Linked DNA regions of Homo sapiens: region 2 is linked to region 1. The links are contacts of gene promoters, found by promoter capture Hi-C in blood cells and fetal thymus (Javierre and others, 2016). All regions are on one chromosome and are shown on one strand. The core of a region is centred on a gene start or on the middle of the fragment in contact, and the rest is flanking DNA. Distances in the headings are between cores, read along the strand shown. Region 1 holds the start of UTY (ubiquitously transcribed tetratricopeptide repeat containing, Y-linked). Region 2 has its middle 32 kb from the start of TMSB4Y.

Region 1 (6,079 bases), core at 1,961-4,460:
GGAACATCACACACTTGGGCCCTATCGGGGGTGGGGTTCAAGGGGAAGGAGAACATTAGAACAAATACCTAATGAATGAAGAGCTTAAAATCTAGATGACAGGTTGATTGGTGCAGGAAACTACCATGGCACATATATACCTGTGTAACAAACCTGCACGTTCTGCACATGTATCCCAGAACTTAAAGTATAATAAATAAATAAATTTAAAAAATAAGCTACATGCATTCACATATATCAGGTTAAATGGTTATATCCTCTAATTTTCCGATAATTAATGCTCATTTTTGTTACTTCTTCTTTTGCTATACCACCCTACCTTCCATGTGTTGTTATACTAAATTTTTTTTTAAAAATAATATAAAGTCATTAGTCTAGTCTCTTCAGGGAATAACCTAAATCTGAATGCTTTATACCCATTTCACATACATGTGACAAATTATACACTACAAAGGGTACAAATAATAAGCCTTTTATCAGTATACATATTTTTGTATCTTTTGTAGTTACATTTTATAAACCAGGTAAGATCCAAAAAGTTACATAGAATGTAAGGCCTTAATGTTATATACTGTCTGATTTATAATCTGCCAAATGTACATGAAGGTATGAGGATGGATGCAGCTTTGTATTTACATTCGATATATAATGTTGGGTTAGAGATTAGCTAATTTTTCCAAGGTACAGCCTGTACAGAGCCAGAATTCAAATTCATTCTTTACTGCAATTTCTGTCCCACCTCTATGTTGCTCTATCACTTTGTAATAATTACCTGCCTCAAGTGAGACAGGTAGGCCTTATTCCTGGAAAAGGCCATATTCTACATTATTTGAATGTCTGCTTGTGCAAATGTATGCATATTATCAAAAACCTCTTGGTGTGATGGCCACCACTATGACAATTAATATACTTACTAATATACTTATGACAATTAATATAACATTTTCAATAGTACAGCTACTGAAAATATTCTGTGGTGTAGCGATTCAACTGAAATGGAATGAGTAAAGAACATGATAGACTATAATCTATAAAATCAGAGTTAGTTGTTAGTTTCAAAATAACAATGAAAACACGTGTTACTGAGCAAAATCAGCTGGGATTTCCAAAACTCTCACTAGTGTTATAGTTTTTTGTCTGGAAGTTCTAAACTGTCCTCTCATTTAAACATCAAAGTTTAAATATATAATACCTATTTTTGGAGGAGGCAAATCTATTACTTAAAAAAAGATACCATTTCTTCACTTATAAAGGAACATTTCCCCTAATGCCATTAATAATTAACATTTTTGTAATATCTAATATCTGGAGGTATAACCAGTAAACTATTTGATACATGGAATATTATGCAATTTGTCTTTTGAAAACAGTAATCAACAGAGGCGTTTAATATATATGAGACTTTTTATAGATTCTTTACATAGAAAAATATACACAATTCCTCAACATACATATGCCATATAATATGAGAAAAAAAAATTAATCTTGGGATCCCAAAATCACTAAGTAACGGAAAAGTCAAGCTGGGAACTATGTCACTAAACTTGCCTCCCATTTTATTCCTAAATAAGATACGTACAAAGATAAGAAGCTACATACGTTCCTCACAACGTGCCCACAAGGAAATTCCTTGTGGACAAAGGACAGACCCAACTCAAAGTTATCCCTGTGAGGCGCACAAGAGACAACTGCATATCTGATTGCTTCCTCTGCCTTATTATTTATTTATGTAAAAATACAGAGTTACTAGCCGGACTAAATTCTGTATTCAGTAGGAGGCTGATCAAGGACTCAAAAGCATGCAAACTCTTGTCTCTTATCTACATTTTTTTTTTTTTTTTTTTTTTTGAGACGGAGTTTTGCTCTTGTTGCCCAGGCTGGAATGCAATGGTGCCATCTCGGCTCACCGCAACCTCCGCCTCTTGGGTTCAAGCGATTCGCCTGCCTCAGTCTTCAGAGTAGCTGAGATTACAGGCATGCGCCACCATGCTCTGTTAATTTTGTATTTTTAGTAGAGACGGGGTTTTTCCATGTTGGTGACGCTGGTCTGAAACTCCCAACGTTAGGTCATCTGCCCGCCTCGGCCTCCCAAAGTGCTGGGATTACTGGCGTAAACCACAGCGCCCGACCTGTCTCTTATCTATTTCTAACATGGAAGCCCCCGCTTCGAGCTGTCCCTCTTACCTGACCGAACCAATCATGTTTCCCTAAAACGTACAAAAGCAAGCTGTGCCCTGACCACCTTGGGCAAATGTATCATGGGTAAGTCTTGCAAAATAAACTTTTTAAATTGACTAAGACCTCTCTCAGATATTTGGGGTTCAGAAATAAATTCTTTTACCTATTATTTATAATTTTGGTTACAATTGAGAAAGTAAGAAAAAAGTGGTGTTTTTTTCTTTTCTAAGGGTTACTGCATCTTGAAAGTGTGATGAAGGTCTTAATTATTGTTCTTATAATTCCTGTCCACAGAAGCTCCTACTCTTACTGAGACCTCACGGAATTATCATTATCACAATAGAAATAAACATTTTGGGTTTGTGGAGTAACTTTTTTTTTTTTTTTTTTTTTTGCTCATCGTTTGTTGTTTAGATAATATCATGAACTGATAAATGCAGTTGCCACGTTGATTCCCTAGGGCCTGGCTTACCGACTGAGGTCATAAGATATTATGCCTTCTCTTTAGACTTGGTCAGTGGAGAGGAAATGGGCAAAGAACCAGCCTATGGAGGTGACAAGGCCTTAGGGCCAAAAGTCTTGAGGGTGAAGGTTTAGGGCCTGCGCAGCTTCCCTGCCATGCCCCGCAAGGTCTCGCATTCGCAAGGCTTGTGACAGTGGGAGCCTCATTACGGACTCTCCTAAAGTCCATGGTGTCCTCTTTTCGCATTTGCGCCCCGTGGGTGATGCCCGATGCCGCCCTTCCCATCGCTCTCTTCCCCTTCAAGCGTATCGCAACTGCAAAAACACCCAGCACAGACACTCCATTTTCTATCTTAATGCATTTAACTAGCACAACCTACAGGTTGTTCCATCCCAGAGACTACCCTTTTCTCCATAGACGTGACCATCAACCAACCAGCGGTCAGAATCAGTCAGCCTCTGTCATGTTCCTAGGTCCTTGGCGAACTGGCTGGGCGGGGTCCCAGCAGCCTAGGAGTACAGTGGAGCAATGCCTGACGTAAGTCAACAAAGATCACGTGAGACGAATCAGTCGCCTAGATTGGCTACAACTAAGTGGTTGGGAGCGGGGAGGTCGCGGCGGCTGCGTGGGGTTCGCCCGTGACACAATTACAACTTTGTGCTGGTGCTGGCAAAGTTTGTGATTTTAAGAAATTCTGCTGTGCTCTCCAGCACTGCGAGCTTCTGCCTTCCCTGTAGTTTCCCAGATGTGATCCAGGTAGCCGAGTTCCGCTGCCCGTGCTTCGGTAGCTTAAGTCTTTGCCTCAGCTTTTTTCCTTGCAGCCGCTGAGGAGGCGATAAAATTGGCGTCACAGTCTCAAGCAGCGATTGAAGGCGTCTTTTCAACTACTCGATTAAGGTTGGGTATCGTCGTGGGACTTGGAAATTTGTTGTTTCCATGAAATCCTGCGCAGTGTCGCTCACTACCGCCGCTGTTGCCTTCGGTGATGAGGCAAAGAAAATGGCGGAAGGAAAAGCGAGCCGCGAGAGTGAAGAGGAGTCTGTTAGCCTGACAGTCGAGGAAAGGGAGGCGCTTGGTGGCATGGACAGGTACGCACCTCCATCACCCGCCTGGTTGGCTGGCGATACTCTCCGGGAAGGCCTGGACGCAGCTTGCCCACGTTGATGACGGGGTCATCCTCAGCTTGGCACTCACCAATCTGTCGCTGTCGCTCTTGGACTCGGGAAGGAGCAAGTCACTGGCTTTCTCAGACCATTAACAAGCTCTGTGTCTCTCTCTCTACAGCCGTCTCTTCGGGTTCGTGAGGCTTCATGAAGATGGCGCCAGAACGAAGACCCTACTAGGCAAGGTAAAAGCAACCAGACGCAAAGTCTTTGGTCCGCACTTTGCTCTACCAAGGCCCCGCGTTCCTTACCGCCCAGCCAGTATTTATTTTGGCTCTGCTCCATGGCCAAGGGGTCGGAAAAGTGTTTCTTGCCTTTGCTGTCCCCGTACTCTGGAATACTTCGCCCCTTGCTCCAGACTCCCTTCTACTCTGAGGAAAAAAAAAATCGGACGCTTTGGGACCGGGCTAAACCGGGTCTACACCACATGCCTGTTACTTTAGGGCCTTTTGTTCCTGAATTTTAGCGTCACAAATAGTGAATGTGTACAGTTTTCAAAATTCATAACTTCCTGCTTCTTCCCCTCGCCTTTTGGTATTTGGCTCTTGGTGTCTAATTTTAAACATTTTTTTGCCTTTTTAAAAAAAATATCCCTGGTGTCCTAAGTGTAAGTAGCAAGTAAGTTACAGCGGTGAAGAGTTTGCAGTAGATATTTGACCTATAAACTGATGCGTGTATGTTTAGCCTGAAGTTTAGTGATTTGTTGACTTTTTTAGGATGCACAGTGCTGCAAATGTGATTTCATGAATGTGTGTGCTTTTTCCATTCAGGAACCTTGTTTCTTAGGTGTCATGCTCACAGTGGGAAGAATTTGTTGTTTGTGTGAAAAGTTGGCACTGTCGTTTAGTTAATGGCTGCTCCTATCAGCCAAGATGGCGGGTAAAAAGGGGGAGGAGCAATAAAGGGGGAAGCTTGGGAAGAGGGTGGAGGTATTAACCCGGAAACCTTAGCAAGGAATAGACCGTAAAGAGCGCTGACGTAGCTTCATGTTGCTTATTAAAAATTATTATTATTTAAAAGTAGAATTCTTGCGTTATCTCCAACATTGACAGCAGCATTTTTAAACCTATATGTGCTTATTAATTGCAGCATGTTTAGTTACTCCCACGTGAATTGTTGCGTAACTTGGCCCTGGAATATTCCTGTGTGTATCGTTTTTTACCCTCTCACCAAAATCTTGTTAAAGTATTTGTATGTTGTCAATTGGTCCCGTGAAATAAGAACGGTACAACAATCGCGCCATCTTTTAGATGCTGAAGCCAGTAGTTAAGAATTTCAGTTTATTATTGTATTTGACAAGGAAATACTAATTATTTTCTCAGGATGAACATTTTACTTACCAAGACGTTTTACTTTGTAGTTTAATTCAGTACAGACGCTGAGTTCTTTTACCTATAATCTCCTTTGTATGTTTGTTTTGGGGGCAAATACTGATCAGAAAACTAAAATGTAATATATATATGTATGTATAATGTGTATATATATAGTTAGTAAATCCACTTTATTTGACTGATAAATGAAACATGAGTTAAACTTTGATTATGCAAGTGAAAATAGCTTTATGAAAAACATGTTATAGTATCAATGATACGATTTAAGCAACAGTGACTCGATCTGCCTTAATGTTTAAAATAGTTATGATAATGAAATAAAAGTAATTTGATGTTTTCTGGGATAATGTGGGAAAATACTGGTTGAGAACTTTAAATCTTCATATGCTGGAGTTAGGATAAATTCTCAGTGGGTTGTGGTTAACATTTTAGTTTGGAATGAACTTTTCAGATAGACAATATGGGGTTTAAATTTTAAGGAATTTTTTTTTCACATATTGATCCTTTCCAATTTTGATTACAGTAACATTTTAAATATGAGAAAGTGGTTTCATTATGTTTGGGGAGAACTGTAGCTTCATAAAACACTGAGTAATGCCGTATATTAAACTGCAGTGACTTTTTTGAAATGAAAAAAATATTAACTCAATTTCACTTCATTTGGCTCAGGATTCTGAAGGCTGGGAAGTCCAGGATCAAGGGGCTGCGTTTCATGAGGGCTTTAGTGCTGCATCATTCTTTGGAGAAGGTGGAAGGGCAAGAAAGTATATCACAGTGCAAGAGATGGGGGATGCCTAACTCTCTGTAATGAACCTATCCTCACTATGACATTAACCCATCCATGAGAGCAGCCTGCTTATGATGTTGTCAAATCTTAAAGACATCATTTCACAACACTGTTGCATTGAGGATTATGTTTTCAATGCATGAACTTTGGGGGACAT
Region 2 (6,079 bases), core at 1,157-3,656, 260 kb before region 1:
ACCAGCCTGGCCAACATGGTAAAGCCCCGTCTCTACTTAAAGTACAGAAATTAGCTGGCATGGTGGTGGGGGGCCTATAGTCTCAGCTACTCCGGAGGCTGAAGCAGGGGAATTGCTTAAACCCGGAAGGCGGAGGTTGCAGTGGGAGATCGCGCCACTGCACTCCAGCCTGGGCAACAGACTGAGACTCCGTCTCAAAAAACAAAACAAAACAAAACAAAACAAAAAAAGTCTTCAGTTTCTCTGATGTTTTCAAGCCTATCAAAATTTACACGGAGGCATATAAATACCAAGGTGTTTGGGGAGAAGCCTCTGGAAATTACAAAAGCAGATTTTTAACGGGAGACAGCGCCACACGCTGGCCATTTAAATGAAACGGGAAGGAAAGCACAGAACCCTCCGTGTGTGACAATAACCTAATTTTAGGACAAAGCTGCCCACTCTACGGCATATTTCTCACTGGGGTAGTCATGCCACAATCGCACTTAGCACCTACTAGATTACATCTAGTGTGGATTTAAATATTGCAAGCCATTCCTGCATCTCTACAGTCACACTGACCTAAATTAGGGAAATTAGTATAGCAGTTTCGAATAATTGTTTCCCTAGCTTTTAAAAACTTTCCAACTATTCCCTGCAAAATTAACTGACAAAGGTAGACTGTCTGTGAGTTACGTCTATGGAAGCCTCTGTTTGGAACCACTTTTTTTTGCAGCTGGGATTATATGCCTGTGCCACCATACCCCGGATAATTTTTGTAGAGACAGGGGTTTCACTATGTTGGCCCGGCTGGTCTTGAACTCCTGATCTCAGTTTATCTGCCCTCCCTGGCCGCCCAGAGTGCTGGGATTACAGGTGTGAGCCCTACTTCCAGGATTTTCTATAGTGGCTAGTGTGAACCAGCTGAAGAATATTCTATTCTAAGATTGAATTTTGGGTGTTTGAGAGTCTGAAAGCAAAGCTGACTCCCTTCCGGCCTCTTCTCATTGTTTCTGGGCCTCTGAATGCCCAGCCCTCCTCAGGCACTATGTAGCACATCAAAGTTGACTTTGAGTTCCAGGGAGTGCCAAAGCCAGGAGTTCAGTTTGCCTTTTTTCTTAGTAATCTGTGTTTCGCTGGGACACAGATGGACAACATTTGGATATCAAACATGGTAAATGGAGCCTGGGCAACATAACAAGACCTCGTATCTCCCCCTACCCGCTCCAGAAAAGAAAAAGTAAGGCAAAGCGGTACACGCCTCTAGTCCCAGAGAGCCTGAAGCAAGATCACCTGAGCCTGGAGATAGAGGCTGCAGTGAGCTATGATCGCACCACTGCACTCCATGCTGTGTGACACAGCGAGACCCTGTTTTCTGAAAAATGAGAAAACAGAAAAGAAAAAAAATGGTTAATGGGATTTGCCTAACGTTTAAGTGGGGATTCCTAGTGGGAGTGTTTCTCCCTGGTCTTTCTGGACATTGCCTGAGATAGCTCAGTTACCTAGCAATATGGTAACAACTTCTGTGCTCAAAAAGAGACTGAAGGAGAGGTATGGATATGTATTAAACAAGCTTCTTTTTCTCCTCCTGCAAATAATTATCATTCTGAATTGTCGAGCAGTCAGGTGGTATTTTTTCCTGAGAAACTTATTTCCAACGTCTCAATGTTTGTAATGCTTTTCACACATAGGGGAGGTTCAGTTGGTTCAGCTGAGAGCGTTCATACAGGCAGTGATGTTCCTGAGTTATTATACAGAGGAACCCAGTGAAGACCAGTGGCATGATTGGAGAACTGTCAGCTCACTCATATTAGTAGAATATTGCCAAGTGAATTACTGCTTCTTGCCATTATGCACAAAAAAAGAAATGAAAAGCAATCTAAGCCTTTTTGTATTTTCAGAGAATTAGGTGCACTTGTTCATTTTTTATTTAATATCAAAGGACTTTTTACTCTGGTCTGCAAAACTTTAAAATTATGACTGTCATAACTACCTACACAGAGATTAAGGATTATAAGATACTAGATAAATAGATAGATAGAGAGAGAGATATTTAGATATGTGTATATAATTTTTTTGTGTATATATATATATATATATATATATAAAATTTCCATAATTACAGGGACTGTTTGTAAACTCTATTTTTTCTTTGTTAATTTGTACATTTTGATTCTCATTATGTAATTCAAATTTCACAAAAATTATGTTTTCACAAACATTATAATCAATATTCATTATGATTTGTTTTTATATTTATTTATCCCTTCCATTGCTTCTTCTTTCTTACATTTCCATGTTTCCATCTGGGATCATTCCTTCTGGAAGAACTTAAATATATGTAATTATATTTAAGATTAATTTTAAGGAAGAACTTACATATATAATTACATATATTTAATATAATCTATCTGTAATTATATGTAATTACAGATAGATTAGATAGATACATAGACAGATAGATAATAGATATATTAATATGGTTCTATAGGAAATGTATTTTCTCAGATTTCTTGAGGGGATATATTGGAATGTCTTTTTTTTCATTTTTATTTTTGGAGAATACTCTTTTTAGAAGAGAATTCTAGACGGACAGTTATTTCCTTTCCTCGTTATTGTAGTTCATTTTTTCAAAGTAGAACAGGGGTATTTTCCATCATCTTGAACCAGAAATTTTCCCACTAATTGTACTTCAAGCCACTCAGCAGACCAGGGAATTACTTCTTGCTGAGGATACAAAATCTCCCCAACTGTTTTGCTCTTACCTTGTTGAGCTTATGGGACTGACTTATTCCCAAGACCCCTTCCTTTGAAACTCCTGTTCCTAAACAGCACATATGCCTAGATTTCCCATGTCTCTTCGCCAGTTTTTTTCCCTGGAGCCTCTTTTTGCATCCTTCTGGATTCGTCACCGTTCTTGAAATAATTCTGTTCCAGGTGATAGAATCAAAGGGCAAGTTGGACAAGGAGGCTTTGCATGGGAAAGAAGCCCATGCAGCAGGAATTGGGGATGCTCTTGCTCTACTTTACAGAGCCCAGTCAGTACTGGGGCTCTGACTTCTCCTCTCTATGCTGTAAAAACCAGAATCTCATTTGCCCAGCCCTGGCCTGGTGTCCACTTGGGTGAGGAGCTCTGGCCAGGTGTGGGTCATTTATTTTTGACCAGGGCCCACCACAGATCCTCAGTTTCCTTCCCAGAGATGAAGACTGCTTTGTGTCAAGCAGCTATACAATGAGCTAACATAAATAATATCCCCAAATCCACACTTCTAAAAGCTTCCACAGGGTCTATTTGGTTCAGATCCAGGCAGTCTTTTGCAGGCTCTATGTTTTCAGCAGCTTTTATTTAACTGATTGTCTTGGGTACTTTGCAATATGCCAGGCATGATTCCTGCACTGGGTGATGGGGGCAGCAGCTATACAAAGAGGCGGTGTCTACAAGTGGTTCTTGGGGCCTTTCCCTAGTTGCTCTGCAGAGCTCTAAGATTTGCATGTGTCTCAACCACCTCTGCCCTGAGCTTTTGCTACGTAAGACCATCTCCCTGTTGGGCTTTTCCATAGGGCGAGACACATGCACAATCCTGCCCCCATCACCCAGTGCAGGAATCATGCCTGGAATATTGCAAGTACCCAAGACAATCAGTTAAATAAAAGCTGCTGAAAATGTAGAGCCTGAAAAAGACTGCCTGGATCTGAACACCAGGTAGACCCTGTGGAAGGTTTTAGAAGTGTGGATTTGGGGATATTATTTATGTTAGCTCATTGTTCTCAACTGCAAAATGGGAAAAACATACCAACTTCATGGTGTTGTCATAAGTAATCACTGAGTTAATATCGGTGAACACCAACGAAAGTATTAGCTCTTATGTCTTTGCCTCTGGTCTGAAACCTGCCTTCTCAATCATCCAGATGCCTTCACAACCTTCTTTCTAAAATTAGAATCTACTATTATTGTTGCCTACTTTAAAAATCATGGCTAGAGCCCCCCTGCTGATGTGACAGTTGTTTATCATGCAGTAAGATTCTCTTTATGTTTTCCCCCAGCGAAGTTCATCTCTTTCCAGACCCACCAGTGTCAACCATGCTTCAGCAGAACTAAACAGCTGGTGCTTTCACATTGTCACCCCATGAGTGTTCCAGCGGTGGATGTTGTTCTCTCTCGTGAGTGTTAACATTCTAACACTGCTGAGTGTTTTCTTCATGGTGTTCATTTTTATTATGTTCGTCACACCTTATCAAGTCTTTGTTCACATGTCCATCTCCATTTCTACTTCTTATGGACAATGGCTTTTTCTGATAGGTGCTCAACAGATTCATTGCCTGGGACTGGAAATACTCAACACTCTTCGGTATGCAGCCTCTTTTATTCTTACATGGTCATGTTAACTTCTTATGGCTCCATAATATCTTTTATTAAAAAAAAAATTAGAGATGGGGTATCACTATTCCCCAAGCTGATTTCAAACTCCTGGATTCAGGCAATCCTCCCCTCTTAGCCTTCCAATGAGCTGGTACTACAGGCATGAACTGCTGCACCTGGCTTCAAAGCATCTTTGATACTTTGCTGGTGCAAGTATCAATTAATGCAATGACTCTGGAAGAGAGTCAGATGCCACCTTCAAAAAAACGACCACCCACATAGATGATGATTCCTCATTTTCACTCCTGGTGGAACGCAGCTAAAGCTACTGCATATGTATTATCAAAGTCTTGACAAACCAACTTTACAGCAGCACAGCTCATGTTAGCAAGAACCTTAACCAATAAAATGTACGATGATAGAACAGCAGATGCATAAACTCTTAGGTATTCACATACTGAAATATTGTACAGCTGTCAAAATAAATTAATGACAGAGATGGATACGTTAAACAAATGCCTCAATATAATAGTATGTGAAAGAAAATGCAAACAGACTATACATGGCAGGATATACTCTTTCTTTATAAAGTTAAAGGTAACTAGAAAAAAAGAGACACTTGTAGAAACAAATGTGTGCAATAGGCCAAGCACGCTGACTCACACTTGTAATCCCAGCACTTTGGGAGGCCAAGGTGGGTGGATCACTTGAGGTCAGCAGTTTGAGACCAGCCTGGCCCACATGGAGAAACCCTGTCTCTACAAAAGTAGAAAAATTAGCCAGACATGTTGTCATGCGCCTGTAGCACCAGCTACTCAGGAGACTGTGGCAGGAAAATTACTTAAACCTAGGAGGTGGAGGTTGCAGTGAACTGAGATCATGTCACTGCACTCCAGCCTGGGTGACAGATGGAGATTCTGTCTCAAAACAAACAAACAAATAAATGCAAAAAATCCATATAAAAAGGAAGAGATAATAGGCATAGATTATAAGATAATAGTGGACAAAACAGGAAGATTTATTGATTGTATAAGGCCTCTTTTGTTCGTGGCAGTGAGATTTTCGGGTGTCCATTATACTATTAACAATACCTAATTAAATAGCTAGCTAAATAGGTAAAATGGGCTATACCTGGAACAATGATGAAAATGTCATGAACCAGGAATTATGATTTATCTCACTCAGTATTACTGAAATTTAAAAATATAATGAAGTCAAAATACCAATGCCAGACACGGCATGTTCACGTACACAGCAACACAGGGTCCTAAGCTTCTGTTGCAATATGAAATGCATGATTTGTACAAAGAATGGGTCAGAAAGCAGTGGTTTGTTTGTTTTGTTTTCTTTCTAGATGCAAAGTTAGAGGAGAACAAGGCTGAGTTATCAAGTGTTATGCTTGGGAATCATAAGGAACTAAAAGGTAGCTTTCAGATGACTGAAAACTGTTGACTTTGGGGATGAAGTAGCCCTAGACTTTTGTAGAGCTGTCTTAAGTCCCTAGTAAAACAATATGTCATTGTCAGAAAAAACTGAGAAGGTAAAGAGTCCAAGAGAGGGAACTAACACATGGGGAGAAGATGAGAACTTCGTGGTTTAAACAACCCATGCTTGCAATGACACTGGCCTCCTTTTTTTATTTTTATTTTTCCATAAGTTATTGGGGTACATGAGTAAGTACATGGTATTTGGTTAGATGAGTAAGTTCTTTAGTGGTGATTTGTGAGATTTTGGTGCACC

Evidence for each region. Contacts are between HindIII fragments. The CHiCAGO score rates a contact against its expected background, and 5 or more counts as called.
Region 2: a contact is called between a fragment that was not itself captured here and the fragment with the promoter of UTY in region 1, in 2 of 17 cell types (M2 macrophages and megakaryocytes). The highest score is 8.7, in M2 macrophages.

What each region holds. Positions count from the first base shown.
Region 1 is chrY:13,477,164-13,483,242 of GRCh38, reverse strand. UTY (ubiquitously transcribed tetratricopeptide repeat containing, Y-linked) reads left to right here and starts at 3,210. Exons shown (of 30, transcript NM_001258249.2): 1 at 3,210-3,729; 2 at 3,926-3,989. The coding sequence starts at 3,578. MIR12120 (microRNA 12120) reads right to left here and starts at 4,066; the gene lies at 3,977-4,066. The HindIII fragment of the contact is 7,265 bases long and covers 1-4,717 here.
Region 2 is chrY:13,733,090-13,739,168 of GRCh38, reverse strand. No RefSeq gene overlaps it. Among named protein-coding and RNA genes, the nearest start is that of TMSB4Y, 32 kb to the right of the region's middle. The HindIII fragment of the contact is 1,703 bases long and covers 1,555-3,257 here.